2 separate regions of the Homo sapiens genome follow, and region 2 is linked to region 1. Evidence: promoter capture Hi-C in human tissues and cell types (Jung and others, 2019). All regions are on one chromosome and are shown on one strand. The core of a region is centred on a gene start or on the middle of the fragment in contact, and the rest is flanking DNA. Distances in the headings are between cores, read along the strand shown.

Region 1 (5,717 bases), core at 1,772-4,271:
CCACCTCCCTAGCGCCCCCTGCTGCCTCCATCGTGCCCGGAGGCCCCCAAGCCCGAGTCTTCCAAGCCTCCTCCTCCATCAGTCACAGCGCTGCAGCTGGCCTGCCTCGCTTCCCGTGAATCGTCCTGGTGCATCTGAGCTGGAGACTCCTTGGCTCCAGGCTCCAGAAAGGAAATGGAGAGGGAAACTAGTCTAACGGAGAATCTGGAGGGGACAGTGTTTCCTCAGAGGGAAAGGGGCCTCCACGTCCAGGAGAATTCCAGGAGGTGGGGACTGCAGGGAGTGGGGACGCTGGGGCTGAGCGGGTGCTGAAAGGCAGGAAGGTGAAAAGGGCAAGGCTGAAGCTGCCCAGATGTTCAGTGTTGTTCACGGGGCTGGGAGTTTTCCGTTGCTTCCTGTGAGCCTTTTTATCTTTTCTCTGCTTGGAGGAGAAGAAGTCTATTTCATGAAGGGATGCAGTTTCATAAAGTCAGCTGTTAAAATTCCAGGGTGTGCATGGGTTTTCCTTCACGAAGGCCTTTATTTAATGGGAATATAGGAAGCGAGCTCATTTCCTAGGCCGTTAATTCACGGAAGAAGTGACTGGAGTCTTTTCTTTCATGTCTTCTGGGCAACTACTCAGCCCTGTGGTGGACTTGGCTTATGCAAGACGGTCGAAAACCTTGGAATCAGGAGACTCGGTTTTCTTTCTGGTTCTGCCATTGGTTGGCTGTGCGACCGTGGGCAAGTGTCTCTCCTTCCCTGGGCCATAGTCTTCTCTGCTATAAAGACCCTTGCAGCTCTCGTGTTCTGTGAACACTTCCCTGTGATTCTCTGTGAGGGGGGATGTTGAGAGGGGAAGGAGGCAGAGCTGGAGCAGCTGAGCCACAGGGGAGGTGGAGGGGGACAGGAAGGCAGGCAGAAGCTGGGTGCTCCATCAGTCCTCACTGATCACGTCAGACTCCAGGACCGAGAGCCACAATGCTTCAGGAAAGCTCAATGAACCCAACAGCCACATTTTCCTTCCCTAAGCATAGACAATGGCATTTGCCAATAACCAAAAAGAATGCAGAGACTAACTGGTGGTAGCTTTTGCCTGGCATTCAAAAACTGGGCCAGAGCAAGTGGAAAATGCCAGAGATTGTTAAACTTTTCACCCTGACCAGCACCCCACGCAGCTCAGCAGTGACTGCTGACAGCACGGAGTGACCTGCAGCGCAGGGGAGGAGAAGAAAAAGAGAGGGATAGTGTATGAGCAAGAAAGACAGATTCATTCAAGGGCAGTGGGAATTGACCACAGGGATTATAGTCCACGTGATCCTGGGTTCTAGGAGGCAGGGCTATATTGTGGGGGGAAAAAATCAGTTCAAGGGAAGTCGGGAGACCTGATTTCTAATACTATATTTTTCCTTTACAAGCTGAGTAATTCTGAGCAAGTCACAAGGTAGTAACTGAGGCTGTAAGATTACTTAGTTTCTCCTTATTAGGAACTCTTTTTCTCTGTGGAGTTAGCAGCACAAGGGCAATCCCGTTTCTTTTAACAGGAAGAAAACATTCCTAAGAGTAAAGCCAAACAGATTCAAGCCTAGGTCTTGCTGACTATATGATTGGTTTTTTGAAAAATCATTTCAGCGATGTTTACTATCTGATTCAGAAAATGAGACTAGTACCCTTTGGTCAGCTGTAAACAAACACCCATTTGTAAATGTCTCAAGTTCAGGCTTAACTGCAGAACCAATCAAATAAGAATAGAATCTTTAGAGCAAACTGTGTTTCTCCACTCTGGAGGTGAGTCTGCCAGGGCAGTTTGGAAATATTTACTTCACAAGTATTGACACTGTTGTTGGTATTAACAACATAAAGTTGCTCAAAGGCAATCATTATTTCAAGTGGCTTAAAGTTACTTCTGACAGTTTTGGTATATTTATTGGCTATTGCCATTTGCTTTTTGTTTTTTCTCTTTGGGTTTATTAATGTAAAGCAGGGATTATTAACCTACAGTCCAGAAAGCCTGTGAATTTGAATGAGGAAAAAATTACATTTTTGTTTTTACCACCTTCTAACTAAATTTAACATTTTATTCCATTGCGAATAGAGCCATAAACTCAAAGTGGTAATAACAGTACCTGTGATTTTGTCATTACCAATAGAAATCACAGACATTTTATACTATATTACAGTTGTTGCAGATACGTTGTAAGTGAAATATTTATACTCAAAACTACTTTGAAATTAGACCTCCTGCTGGATCTTGTTTTTAACATATTAATAAAACATGTTTAAAATTTTGATATTTTGATAATCATATTTCATTATCATTTGTTTCCTTTGTAATCTATATTTTATATATTTGAAAACATCTTTCTGAGAAGAGTTCCCCAGATTTCACCAATGAGGTTCTTGGCATGCACACACACAGAGTAAGAACTGATTTAGAGGCTAACATTGACATTGGTGCCTGAGATGCAAGACTGAAATTAGAAAGTTCTCCCAAAGATACACAGTTGTTTTAAAGCTAGGGGTGAGGGGGGAAATCTGCCGCTTCTATAGGAATGCTCTCCCTGGAGCCTGGTAGGGTGCTGTCCTTGTGTTCTGGCTGGCTGTTATTTTTCTCTGTCCCTGCTACGTCTTAAAGGACTTGTTTGGATCTCCAGTTCCTAGCATAGTGCCTGGCACAGTGCAGGTTCTCAATGAGTTTGCAGAGTGAATGGAAATATAAACTAGAAATATATCCTTGTTGAAATCAGCACACCAGTAGTCCTGGTGTAAGTGTGTGTACGTGTGTGTGTGTGTGTGTGTGTGTGTAAAACCAGGTGGAGATATAGGAACTATTATTGGGGTATGGGTGCATAAATTGGGATGTTCTTTTTAAAAAGAAACTCCAAACAGACTTCTGGAAGGTTATTTTCTAAGAATCTTGCTGGCAGCGTGAAGGCAACCCCCCTGTGCACAGCCCCACCCAGCCTCACGTGGCCACCTCTGTCTTCCCCCATGAAGGGCTGGCTCCCCAGTATATATAAACCTCTCTGGAGCTCGGGCATGAGCCAGCAAGGCCACCCATCCAGGCACCTCTCAGCACAGCAGAGCTTTCCAGAGGAAGCCTCACCAAGCCTCTGCAATGAGGTTCTTCTGTGCACGTTGCTGCAGCTTTGGGCCTGAGATGCCAGCTGTCCAGCTGCTGCTTCTGGCCTGCCTGGTGTGGGATGTGGGGGCCAGGACAGCTCAGCTCAGGAAGGCCAATGACCAGAGTGGCCGATGCCAGTATACCTTCAGTGTGGCCAGTCCCAATGAATCCAGCTGCCCAGAGCAGAGCCAGGCCATGTCAGTCATCCATAACTTACAGAGAGACAGCAGCACCCAACGCTTAGACCTGGAGGCCACCAAAGCTCGACTCAGCTCCCTGGAGAGCCTCCTCCACCAATTGACCTTGGACCAGGCTGCCAGGCCCCAGGAGACCCAGGAGGGGCTGCAGAGGGAGCTGGGCACCCTGAGGCGGGAGCGGGACCAGCTGGAAACCCAAACCAGAGAGTTGGAGACTGCCTACAGCAACCTCCTCCGAGACAAGTCAGTTCTGGAGGAAGAGAAGAAGCGACTAAGGCAAGAAAATGAGAATCTGGCCAGGAGGTTGGAAAGCAGCAGCCAGGAGGTAGCAAGGCTGAGAAGGGGCCAGTGTCCCCAGACCCGAGACACTGCTCGGGCTGTGCCACCAGGCTCCAGAGAAGGTAAGAATGCAGAGTGGGGGGACTCTGAGTTCAGCAGGTGATATGGCTCGTAGTGACCTGCTACAGGCGCTCCAGGCCTCCCTGCCTGCCCTTTCTCCTAGAGACTGCACAGCTAGCACAAGACAGATGAATTAAGGAAAGCACAGCGATCACCTTCAAGTATTACTAGTAATTTAGCTCCTGAGAGCTTCATTTAGATTAGTGGTTCAGAGTTCTTGTGCCCCTCCATGTCAGTTTTCACAGTCCATAGCAAAAGGAGAAATAAAAGGACCGGGTGAGATGTGTCTGCATATGAGCAGTAGAAAGTTGTCAATTGTCCCTTTTGAAAAACTATCCTTTTTTGAACCTTTGCTCAGATTGTTATTTGTACCTTTTGATGTTAAAATGACCTTTATTTATGAAATTACAATAGATTTGGGAAATGATAATAAGTGGTAAGTTTTTGTTTATTTTTAAATGTTCTTCCCTGGCAAAATAAAGAGATGGCACCTCTCTGTCAGTTTTCTTAATATGTTGTTCTGAAAGTTTTCTTACTCAGTCCAATCTGAGAACCTCTGCTTTTAAGTCATCAGACAAATTCTTGAGATGGCTTTTTCTGAGAGGCTCTTCTGTTCATCCTGGTCCCTTCTTGCCTAAAGGTGAGTCTGTGTGTGTGTGGGGGGGGTGCGGGGGTGAGGTGTTGGGGGAGGTCTTCTTATTAGCTGGGAAGATGGTATTTGTGTCACTTTTTGTGAAAGTGGGCTCCCAAATATTCCCTGTTGAGGAAGTGTTCTAATCATGAGGAAATAAGCAAGCAAATCCAGTTGTTGGACAATTAGTTTGGACTGGTCAAAGATGTCAGTGCCAAGGAAGAAAGAAAAAAGGGGTGGGGAAGGGCTTGTTCTATATTAAAGAGACTAAAGAAATGTGTTAACCAAATGTAGTGCATGAGTCTTGATTGGTGTCTTCATCCAAGGGGGAAAAAGGCTATGAGGAACAGGTTTGGGATAACTGAGGCAATTTGACTGCTCATTATTATGTTACTGTATTAATGTTCAGTTTCTTGGTGAGATAATGATACTGTGGTTGCGAAGGATAAAATCTTTGTTCTATGGAGATACATGCTTAAGTACCCAGGGTGAGGCGTCAGGATGTCTGCAATTTGCTCTCAAATGGTTGAAGAAAGACTGCAAATATATAGATAATGAGAGAAAGAAAGGTAAAACAACTGTGGCAAAATATTAATAACTGGTGAATTACAAACTGGTGAATCTAAGTATATGGGGAGCTTATTGTACTATTCTTTCAGTTTTTCTATAGGCTTGAAAAGCTTTAAAATTATGAGAAAATATTTCCTAAAAAGAGCCTTCTACGTGAAAGGCAAGCTCTTCATAGCTATGGGGTTAGAAAACCTAAGAGCCAGAGCCTGGGGATGACCTTGGGCAAGTTATTGAACCCTCTGCATCTTCATTTCTTGTCCATAACATAACAAAGAAAATTCCTGCTGTGAATAATTTTTGTGGGGTTCACATGAAATACCTATAAGATGTAAAGGATTTTTAAAAAATGTTTAGATTGTTAGAATTAGAAGAGATCCAATTCTGAATTTTACAACCAAGGAAAGTGAAGTCCTAAGATGCTAAGGGGCCAAGGTTGCCCAGCTGGTCAGTGGTAGAGCTTGAGACTTGAATCTGTGGAGACAATTGAAAGAATCATCATTACCAGAAGTGTGATGAGGCATTACTTATTTCAGACTGTTGAATGAAGTTACATTCTCAATAAAAACTCCTGCATGTGTGTATGTGGGTGTGGGTGGTGTGTGTGTGTGTGTACAAAAATAGTGGCAATGTTTTGCCTTTTTTTTTCTTTTGTGGTCATTTAACAAGTCTTTGGGGATTTATTAGATGTGTTTCCTAATTTTATATTTTTTCTTGATCTTTCCAGCTACTCCACTTTTGAAATAAGGGCAACATCCCATTATATTGAACACCAAACATGGAAGTTCTTTTCTAGTAGTAGATGTTTTTCATGAGCAGG
Region 2 (5,717 bases), core at 452-2,951, 54 kb after region 1:
CTAAAAAAATGCTAATGATCATCTGAGCTTCTAGTGAGTCATATCTTTTTTTTTTTTTCTGAGACAGAGTTTCGCTCTTGTTGCCCAGGCTGGAGTGAAATGGCGCGATCTCAGCTCACGGAAACCTCTGCCTCCTGGGTTCAAGCGATTCTCCTGCCTCAGCCTCCTGAGTAGCTGGGATTACAGGCATGCACCACCACGCCTGGCTAATTTTGTTATTTTTAGTAGAGACGGGGTTTCTCCAGGTTGGTCAGGCTGGTCTGGAACTCCGGACCTCAGGTGATCCGCCTGCCTCAGCCTCCCAAAGTGCTGGGATTACAGGCGTGAGCCACTGCGCCCAACCAAGTTATATCTTTTTGTTGGTGGAGAATCTTGCCTTGATGTTGGTGGCTGCTGCCTAATCAAGGTGGTGGTTGCTGAAGACCAGGGTGGCTGTGGCAATTTCTTCAAATAAGCCAATGAAGTTTGCCACATCAATTGACTCTTCCTTTCATGAATGAGTTATCTGTACCACGTGATGCTGTTTGATATCATTTTAGCCACAGTAGAACTTCTTCCAAAGTTGGAGTCAGTCGCCTCAAACCTTGTCACTGCTTTATTAACTGAGTTTGTGTAAAATTCTAAATTCTTGTCATTTCAACAACATACACAGCATCTTCACAAGGATAAGGTTCCATCACAAGAAACCACTTTCTTTGCTCATCCATAAGAAGCAACTCCTCATCTGTTCAAGTTTGATCATGAGATTGCAGCAATTCAGTCCCACCTTCAGGCTCCACTTCTAACTCTACCTCTCTTGCTATTTCCACCACATCTGCATTTACTTCCTCTATTGAAGTCTTGAATCCCCTAGGGCTCCATGAGGGTTGGAATAAAACTTCTTCCAAACTCCTATTTGTTGTTGATATTCTGACATCCTCCCATGAACCACAAATGTTATTAATGGCATCTAGAATGGTAAATCCTTTCATATGGCTTTCAATTTCTTTGCCCAGATTCATCAGAGGACTCACTATTTACGAAAGTTGTAGCTTTACAAAACGTATTAATATATATATATTCTTTTCTGAGACAGAGTCTCACTCTGTCACCCAGGCTGGAGTGCAGTGGCACAATCTCAGCTCACTGCAACCTCCACCTCCCAGGTTCAAGCAATTCTCCTTCCGCAGCCTCCTGAGTAGCTAGGATTACAAGCATGTGCCACCATGCCTGGATTTTTTTTTTTTTTGTACTTTTAGAAGAGACGGGGTTTCACCATGTTGGCCAGGCTGGTCTCGAACTCCTGACCTCATGATCTGCCCGCCTCGGCCTCCCAAAGTGCTGGGATTACAAGCGTGATCTACCGCGTCTGGCCTAATATTTCTTAAATAAGACTTGAAAGTCAAAATTACTCTTTGATCCATAGGTTGTAGAATGGATGTCATGTTAGCAGGCATGAAAACATCAATCTTCTTGTACATCTCCATCACAACTCTTGAGTGACTAGGTGCATTGTCAATGAGCTTATCATATTTTGAAAGCTTTAGGTTTTTTCCGTCCCTGAGCAATAGGTCTCAACAGTGGGTTTAAAATATTAGATGCGTTATGCTATAGAGATGTGCTGTCATCCATGCTTTGCTGTTCTATTTCTAGAGCACAGGCAGAGTAGATTTAGCTTAATTTTTAAGGGCCCTAGGATTTTCGAAATGGTAAATGAGTATTGGCTTCAGCTTAAAGTCACCAGCTGCATAAACCCCTCACAAGTCAGTCTTTTTTGAAGCTTTGAAGCCAGGCATTGACTTCTCTCTAGCCTATGAAAGGCCTAGATGGCATCTGCTTCCAATAGAAGGCTATTTTGTCTACCTTAAATACTTGCTATTTAGCATAGCCCCTTCATCAATTATCTCAGCTAGATCTTCCAGACAACTTGCTGCAGTTCGTACATCAACTCTTGCTGCTTCACTTTGCACTTTAATGTTATGGAGATGGGTGTTTTCCTTAAATCTCATGAACCAGCCTCTGCTAGCTTCAAACTTTTCTTCCACAACTTCTTCACCTCTCTGACTTCACGGAATTGGAGTTACGGCTTTGCTCTGGATACGGTTTTGGCTTAAGAGAATGTTGGGCCTGTTTCAATCTTTTATCCAGACCACTAAAACTTTATATCAGAAATAGGGTTCTTTTGTTTTCTTATCATTGTGTAGTCACTGGAGTAGCACTTTTAATTTCCTTCAAGATTTATCTTTTGCATTCACAACTTGTCTAATGGGCCCAAGAAGCCTATCTTTCTGGCCCATCTCAGATTTTGCCATGCCTTCCTCATTAAGCTTAATCATTTTCAGCTTTTGATTTAAACTGAGACGTGCGACTCTTCCTTTTACTTGAACACTTAGAGGCCACTGTAGGGCTATTAATTGGCCTAATTTCAATGTTGTGTCTCCGGGAATACAGAGGCCTAAGGAGACGGAGAGAGGGAACAGCCTGTTTGTGGAGCAATCAGAACACGTGCATTTATGTTCACCATCGTATGGGTGTGGTTCATGAGGCTCCAAATTACACTAGTAACATTCAAGATCCCGGATCACCATAACATGATAATTTAAGCCTGAAATAATTTTAAGAGTTATCAAATGTGACACAGACAGGAAATGAGCACACACTGTTAGAAAATAGCACTAATGAACTTGCTCAACATGGGGTTGCCACAAACCTTCGTTATTTTGAAGAAAAAATCTTGCAATATCTGCAAAGTGCAGTAAAACAAGGTATGCCTGTAACTTCAAGTACAGTGCTTTCACAACAGTGCAGCTTAGTAAAGAGCTTACACTTAAGAATTAGACTGTCTGGACCAAAAAACCCTGCCTCCTCTGCTTACTGTGTATCATTGGGCAGGTTACCACACCTCATTCTCTGCATGTGTAAATAATATTACCTACCTTATAAAGTTGGGGGGTGGAGGGGGCAAGTGGGTGATATTTATGTGTAATTTCCAGTTTTTCCCTGTAAGGTTCTAAGCTGGAGATACAATTCTGATAACTGAGTCATGTAACACGAAACTTTATAACACCCATTTATATTCCCAGGTTATAGAAAGCTGAGGCCCAATCAGTCTCCTCAATGGGTATCACGATCAGCTTCTGTGAAGAGTGTGGTTTTTACTCCAAGTACAACCTTCTTTGCAGCTTCTCATACTAGAGAGGGTGTCTCCTCCCCGGAACCAATAAACCTTATTCACATTGGTAATTAAAAAAAAAAAAAAAATAGCCACTGAATCCTTTAGCCAAGCAAAATTTTAAAGTGGAATTGCTTCTGTTTAATAGTGTGTACTTCCAATCTGAAAACCACTGCCCTAAGTAAACCAGATTACATCAGTTCCAGAGAACTGTCTGAAATTAACTATTTCGCCTCTTGACAAATCTAACCCTGGAGGGCCAGAATGCATCTCTGTCCCTCTACACCATCCTTGAACTTAAGACTTATTCACCTGGAACCACAGGCTCTGCTTATTGGAATTCTCTTCCTCTGTTCTCCACTGAACATTAGTGTCTTTTTCAGCTCAGATAAGGAAACTATTGCTTTTTTTGCTCATATACCAGGAAGACCCAAATTTACACATAATTCTACTTATTAAATATTAGCTAGTATGTGAAGAAATGGTGAGAAGGCCAGATCAGGGCTGACTAAAAACTTCTGGAAGATTTTAATCATATTTAGAAGGTTATGCAGTACAGGCAAATAGATTAGGGGCGAAAGCTTAGACTGGAAAATGGGGTTTGAGGCATCCATGAAATAAGGGCTAGGTATCTATCAGTGATGAAAACCTGAAAGGCCTCAAAGCCACCCCATGTATCTCCACCTACACCCCAGACTGTGTTAAGAAACTGTCCTCTATATTCCCAGCACCTGACACATACAGAGTTAATACTTGACTCCTTGCCTGATTACACCAGATTCACCTCTTGCTTAAACTCTCTACCTCAGGTAAGTTTTCCTTTTCCTGTAGCACATTATTCCTTTCTGTTGAGGGAAGTTTTTAAAAAAATAATTACATTACAATATGAAGTAAATTTGTGGCTCTTAACCAAACTCTATTTAACCACTTCCAAGGTAATATAAGTTGACTGATGACTATTAGCTAGTAGGTGGTTGTCAATATTACTTGATTTCTACAATTTTTACTGTAAAAACTGTGGTCAAATTAGGGGTATGAAGAAAGCTGGAAAACTGAGGGAAGGTATCTGTGAAAGTTCAAGGGAATTCTCTATTCAGATTTCTTTAAGACAAAACTGAAAACTATATATGATGCATATGTAATAGAATCTAGGCAGCAGACATCTCAAAGAAATGGTGTAGTCCTTCATTAAAAGATTGTATGGAAAATAAGCATACATCTAATACAAGCAATCAAAGTATCTAGACTTTGTGACTTTCCATTTTAACTGACCAACCACCAATCCTAGTTCTTCTACTTCTAAAGCACCTACAAAATAATTAGGTCTGTCAAACTATAATATAGTTTTATATTTATCCATAAGGTGGAAAAAAGTTGCAGGGGCATGTGAAGTCAGTACTGAAAATGGTAAGCATCTGTGAAATATGCTGCAGTGGTAACATGAAAAATCACGGGTTACTTGTTAGAAAAGACACTTAAATAGCTTCTGACTCATTCTGCCCTCTGTATCTTGCCTCTGGCCAAGAGTTTGTTAGAACTTTATAAACTATACCCTCCTCTCATTCCCCAACCCTCCTCCCCCAATCACTCTTCTATCATAAGCACTATTTGTTATTAACTAGGGGCAAGGACCTGGACTCCCCTTACCTTCTACCAGGGCAGCTCAGGGACAATGTTCAGAAGCTTATGTGACCAAGTATCTACAGTCAACTATTAACTGCAAAACCTTTTGGGTTATTCTGTCACATGTCAGAGAAGCCATGGACAAAACTACATGGCCAACTGCAGAGACACTTATATACATTATCTTACTTTCATTCGATATGCTTTTGGTGCCATTTTTCCATTGTAGGTTCTAGCGAAGGACCCAAAGTATTAGTGGTATTTTAACAGTTAATACAACCAAATAGCACATGCCTGCTGGTTTGCAAGTGGGGGTAATGCAAGCTGTATAGCTGGTCACCCATTAGGTCTTAAAATTTAGGAGGATTAAACTTAAAAACTAGAATATGAAAAATACTGACAATGGCAGTGACTTAGTAAGGCAAGTACTTGATTCCCATTCTTATCCATCATACCTCTTCCCCCAATCCCCTGCAATAAACCACAGCTTTTAATTTAGAGCATATTTTGAGAAAAACCCTAGACTGAAAACTTGGATCAAGGCAGGGCCTATTAATACGTATCAGACCTGGTGCGGTGGCTCACGCCTGTAATCCCAGAACTTTGGGAGGCTGAGGCAGGTGGATTGCTTGAGCTCAGGAGTTCAAGACCAGCCTGGGCAACATGGAGAAACCCTGTCTCTACCCAACACAAAACCATCAAAACTTGAGTATCTTGTGTTTAACAATCGCAGTATCCATGAGTTAAGAAGGCACATGCGTCATTAGTGACTAAATGACTAGTTTTCTCAAAGCTGGGTCTGGAAGCCGTATGTTCTGAACATGGGATTAAGTAATTACAATCCCTCAGTATTTCATTTCATAAATTGAGTAAATGATAGAATAAATGCCCTATAGCCTTTTAGGGCAGGTGATGTTCATGAACATGCTAACAAAGCTATGAA

The links. The method cuts DNA at HindIII sites, captures the fragments that hold promoters and counts their contacts. A contact is called where the count stands out against the background at its distance.
Region 2: a fragment that was not itself captured here is called in contact with the fragment with the promoter of MYOC in region 1 in 1 of the 25 tissues and cell types used here (pancreas).

What each region holds. Positions count from the first base shown.
Region 1 is chr1:171,649,992-171,655,708 of GRCh38, reverse strand. MYOC (myocilin) reads left to right here and starts at 3,021. Exons shown (of 3, transcript NM_000261.2): 1 at 3,021-3,701. The coding sequence starts at 3,098. The HindIII fragment of the contact is 9,045 bases long and covers 1-5,711 here.
Region 2 is chr1:171,594,508-171,600,224 of GRCh38, reverse strand. No RefSeq gene overlaps it. Among named protein-coding and RNA genes, the nearest start is that of MYOCOS, 25 kb to the left of the region's middle. The HindIII fragment of the contact is 5,166 bases long and covers 1-4,284 here.